2 separate regions of the Homo sapiens genome follow, and region 2 is linked to region 1. The links are contacts of gene promoters, found by promoter capture Hi-C in human tissues and cell types (Jung and others, 2019). All regions are on one chromosome and are shown on one strand. The core of a region is centred on a gene start or on the middle of the fragment in contact, and the rest is flanking DNA. Distances in the headings are between cores, read along the strand shown.

Region 1 (2,700 bases), core at 131-2,630:
GGGACAAAGACCTCCGAGCGGGCGGCGCTCGGAAAGCAGGGCCCGCCACCCTGCGCCGCCCTGGGAAGTGAAGAGGGAGCGCGCGCACAGGGCGGCCCTCCCTGCTGGCCGGGCCCAGCCGAGGGGAGTAATAAGTGGGGGCGCCCTGCACTGCCAAGGGCAGTGTTCTCGCACGTCGGGGCGCAGAGGGGGCATGAAGAACCCTGGAAATTGGGCAGCCTTGCCCGCGCACGTTCCCTCGCCCCTGGGCGGCCCGACTCAGTTTCTAAAGGATGCGTCCCCATCTGCCCAGGGGTCTCGGGGCGCCGGGAACCTGGAGGAACATGGCGCTGTCGCCTCCTGGCGGAAGCGCCCGGGCCTGCGGGCAGGGGCAGCCCTCCAGGGCCCGGAGGCGCAGTGAACTCCCGCGAGTCCGTAGCCCGAGCTCCGCGCTCCCGGCGCCCCTGAGCTCGCCTAGCGCTGCCTGCGTCTTCTTCCTCTTCCCGCTCGCCGCCTCCTTCTTCCCTCCCACTCTCCGAAACTCTAGCTCAACCTGTCCGACAGGCTGGAGCACTCGCGAGCTCTTACGGCCCCATCTGGCCTCGGGCACCCCCACCACCACTCCCCAGCCCCCACTTCTTTTGAAAGCCAAACTTCGGTTGTTTTCGTGCTTCCCCGAGGAGGTAGCGGGGCAGGTGACAAGCCGGCCTTGGAGGAGTGTCCGCCAAGGTGTCGCTAGCAGGTAGCCTCATCTGACCCCTTTGGACAGAGACTTCGTGCGTAAAAGCCACGTCTGAGGGTTGCAGACGGGGCACTTTTCCGAGAAAACGGGAAGCAGGGCTGTTTGCCGCTTAGGAAAGCGCCCGGTAAGCTGTGTGGGTGGGATTTGCCATTCTCTTTCCAGGCCTCGTTCCCGAGGGGAGGCTATTTAGGAAAAGGCCCTATACAGGAAAGGGGCCCCGCAGAAATGGACTAAGGGGTGTCCGGAGAAGTGGATCCCGTCCCACCGAGAGGCCAGGGCTCCTATGCCCTCGTCCCCGACCTCGGTCCAGTGGCCCCTGCCTCCCGGACTGTCCTCGGCGGGGCGGGGCTGCACCCCGGAGCCCCAGCTCACCTCGCAGTCCTCTTCGTACTTGACATTATCGGTTATTTTCCACAACATGGCGTCCGGCGTCCCCCAAAACAGTCGCCAGTTAAATCCAGGATCCCCCCAGCCCCCAAGCGGTAAATCCAAAATCGGGGTCACGGTGACCAGGCGTCTGCCGCCGCCCCCGCCGCGCGCGGGCCTTGCTGTCCGGGTCACTGGACACGCATCGGCGGCTCTGCGAGCGTAGATGCTGCCGCCGCGAGTGTCAAGACCGCTCCGCGGACGGGGAAAGCCGCGCCCGAACAGTGTGTCCTGGCGATAGCCGGGGGACCCGAGCGCCTTAATGAGAAGGAAATTATCATAACTCCTCCCCGGGGGCCGGCGCGGAGGCCCAGGCGCCGGGCGGGGCGGCCCCCAGCCAGTCCCAGCCTAGCTCCGCCCCGCACCCGGGCCTGGCGCAGCGCCGAGCCCCACGCTGTGAGGGACGAAGCGCGGAGTCAGTGGGCGGTGCCTCGTTGACAGCCGAAGACCTGCGAGGCCTGGGTCCCCCGACGCGCCTTCCTTCTGTCACCTCCACCGTAAACACACCTGAGATTGGCAGAGCTGGGGGAAGGGATCCAAATACTGAAACCCACCCCTCTTTCGCCTAAACGGCCTTCACTCGTTCCTCCAAAAGACGGATGTCACCTGGAGTTAAGAAACTGCGCATTTGGGGAGCGACTCAACAACCGGGGTCTCCTCATCTCCTAAAAACACATCCCATCCCACCTACACCCCACTGAGGCTTAAGGTCTGAGCTGGGATCATGCAGCTGGAGCCCCAGTGCGCCAGAGACGCCCAGTTCCCTCCGTGGGCACAGCGCGGTCCCGGCCCCCGGGCGGGAGGAGAGAGGAAGGGACTCCTGGGGAGTCTGCCCCAAGGGCCGCAGAGGCAGCAGACGGTCCTACCCGCCCAGGAGTTGCGGACAGCGGCGTCTCGCCGCTGTCGCCCGAAGTGGCATCTCCCGCGGCTGGCTGAGGCCAGGGGGAACCCGCGCGCACTGGACCAGCCCAGCGGCCCGGCCCTGCCCTGCCCTGCGGAACGCCGGCTCTGCAGCTGCCTCTGGCGGGCCGGTCACTCAGAAGCCTCTACTCGCCCTGGGAAAGAAGCGCCGGGCAGGAATAAAACCCGAGCGCCACGGGTAAGGTGAGGGTGAGGAGGTGCAGGAAGTTGGGAGAGAGCCTGCAGAGAGCTCTCGACTGGAGAGGTAGACACCCAGGTCCCACATGTTTAGACAGAAAACGAAACTTCCTTCCACACAAACGCTGCTTCCCTCTCCCCTTCGGTACTTGCCACCCAAACTTGAAAGCAAAGTGCAATACTAATTTTTAAAATTTAAACTAACGAAATTCTTTGGCCCAGTTATTATGCAGCAATTGACTTTCATTGTAAGGGGAACATCGCTAATTCTCGAGGGCGTATTTGTTGGGACGCCCCAACTGGCTCCCTGGGCTGGATTTAAACATTCTGTGGGGATTAGAGGACAAGACTATTTCTATTTGATACTGAATACGATTTTGCAATAATCAATGCCTATCAGTACGGTGTCCGCACCTGCAGTAGACATGACTCTCCCATCCACGGAATGGCGGCAT
Region 2 (2,700 bases), core at 18-2,517, 710 kb before region 1:
TTATCAATAAAAAATAGGCTCAATACAAAATAAAGCAAAACACTGAAGACTACATCAATCCAAATATTTATTCATACTGAATTTTACTAATGTAACAAATGAATTAATGGAGTAAGACCCCTAAAGTATAAAGGCAAAGGAAAATGTAAGAAGAAACTACCGGACACCACAATTCATTTGCAACATCTCAAATTCAGATCATTATGATTTTTGTTACCAGTAAGATACTTTATGCGTTAACATTAGTTGTATCGTAGAAGGTAAATATTTTGTAGACTTTGATGACATGTATAAAATATTATTTTTTCAAAAATAATTTAAAGGTCAAAATAACATATTCTTTTATAATTTGCTTTAGAAGATAGGACAGAAATCTGTCTCTATAGAGGCAAGAATAAGGCCTTGCAAAGAAAATTGGAGTACAGCATTTGTTTTGACAAAAATATATAATTAACGGAAAGTTATTTTATTTCACTTTTACAGAATTAAGAATATAATATATGTTCTTTCCACAATAGTATTTGCCAATCAAAACAAAACTAATGAAAAGCCTCTGGCAATCAGAAGTTCTTCTGATTTATTTTTATATCCATCCTCCAAATTTTAATTTGTTAGGTAAGTACACTCTGGAAAGATAATCTGATGATAGGAAAGTCAAAGCTTGAATTTCTGCCTTCATTTTAGAGTCTGCCATTATTTCCATCTGTCAATAAAAGTAAAATGTACTCATACCAGAGTTCTTAGTTGCATTTCTGTCAATTCAACAAACTAGTAATCTAGAATTGCTTTATTCTCCAAAACCAGGGACAATAGTCTTAAGGGTCAGCCAGAATATTCCAGAGCTGCTACAGCTAAAAATATCTGGAGTGAGAGTACTCTGTATGCTGTCTTCAATAATTAGGGATAGTCTGAAATCTTTATGATTTCTTCTTCCTTTTTTTAATCCCACAAACTATGATACAGCCATCAAGAATGTGTATATAACCATGATAAGGATACAAACAGGCCAGCTCCATTCACTGATCTCATCTATTAGCATTCATATGACTCAATTTCAACAACTATTTACTGCCAAACAACACTTATGTTAGTCGTGTCATATAAAATTTCAAGAGGGATATTTTCAAAATACGATGTGAATAGCCACTACTAAAGTAAAAGACAATTAAACATGCAACACTTGAGTTGTAAAAGGAAACATACTTCTTTTCTCCAAAATGGTTGGCAGGTAACATAAGGTCTCCTCAGGATACTGTCAAGTTTCATTTGGTCCCTTTTTGTCAGTGGAATCAAACTATCTTTAGGTACATTTAATCTGGAAAAAAGTAGGTGAAAAAAATCAGTAAAAAAGTGTTTCTGTAACTTGAATGTCCTGTATTTTGCCTGTATTTATGGTACTACTTCAAGAAACTCAGAAATAAGAAAATTAGTACAGATCTACCTCTTACATCCAGGATTGAAGGGATCTGTCATGTCTTAGACCAGCAAGTTTTCAAGTTCATAGTGGAAGTTTGTGTTTCCACAGTAAGATTCTAAAGTTTTTGTTTTCCTTCATGTCACACTCGTGGGATGATGACAGGATGACAGGAAGACTGATATTGGTTATTAAACAAATGCCAATAGCACTACCATCAGGTATACAGATACCAGGGCAGCTTAATAATGTACATTAAGCCTCTCAGAGCTTCACACTCTTCTGGCAGTGAGCTCCAATATGCATGGCCAACGGCTGAGATTCACTGAGGGACTTTAGGTTCCATTGAGTATTTAATTCTTCATAATTCATTTGAAGATTCTGGGCCATGGAAGTTAGTGTCTCACTTTTATCATTTTACACACACACACACACACTTTTATCACTTTACACACACACAAACACATTCTTACCTATCTAGTTTTAAATTTGAAAAACGTGGAATATAACTTTATCATGGTATGTGTTTTAAAAATAGAACATGAGAGGTCCTGGATTTATGGTGTGGACTACCTTTTGAAGTCACAAATCCTAGATTTCCCAGGAGAGTCTTTTTCAATGTGTCCATAATTATGACCATTTGCCAGGGGCAGTTCTTGGATAGGGGTGACAATTTGATTGAAAGGGAGGCCTGGAGGATTTCCCTTGCAGCCTGGCTTCTGTAGCTACCATAGTGTTTTTCCTTTGATCGTATATTCATTTGGAGTGGCTTTTTAGTGCACTGATAGAATTTATGAGATGCAGCTAGAGTTTCTTGAAGCTATTCACCTTACTAATTATCAGATCATATGTCTTGAATTTGTGTTAAAATTGTTTTTATACAAACAGATCACCCCCAAGGGATTCTGACCATGACACACATACACTAAATTGAACACGTTAATCCAGTGGAGTGTGAATATTCAAAAATAAAGAATGAAATGTTTCCTCTTGGACCCTCATTTTATAGGAAGTGGCTGATCACCCAAAACCTGTTCACATTCCATATTTAGGAAACAAGCAACTGTTATCAAGGATTGCTCACCACTTAAAGAAATCCAATAAACATGTTTAAATTCATTCTTACTGACCAATTACAACAATAAAACATTTTAAAATATCACATTAGCAGAGGTGAAAAAAAATGTTAATGCCATAAGCTGAGGGACAGGTGGACTCTTACTCTTCAGAGAAAGCAAGAAACTTAATCTATCCAGACAACAGTCAAACCCTGATTATGGGGATCC

The links. The method cuts DNA at HindIII sites, captures the fragments that hold promoters and counts their contacts. A contact is called where the count stands out against the background at its distance.
Region 2: a fragment that was not itself captured here is called in contact with the fragment with the promoter of TFAP2C in region 1 in 1 of the 25 tissues and cell types used here (mesendoderm cells).

The regions. Positions count from the first base shown.
Region 1 is chr20:56,627,986-56,630,685 of GRCh38, reverse strand. TFAP2C (transcription factor AP-2 gamma) reads right to left here and starts at 1,380. Exons shown (of 7, transcript NM_003222.4): 1 at 1,094-1,380. The coding sequence starts at 1,141. RefSeq lists silencers at 1,059-1,353, 1,410-1,469. The HindIII fragment of the contact is 13,903 bases long and covers 1-2,700 here.
Region 2 is chr20:57,341,344-57,344,043 of GRCh38, reverse strand. It overlaps SPO11 (SPO11 initiator of meiotic double strand breaks), which reads right to left. Exons shown (of 13, transcript NM_012444.3): 12 at 1,204-1,315; 13 at 51-703. The coding sequence ends at 584. Among named protein-coding and RNA genes, the nearest start is that of RAE1, 8.6 kb to the left of the region's middle. The HindIII fragment of the contact is 5,962 bases long and covers 1-2,700 here.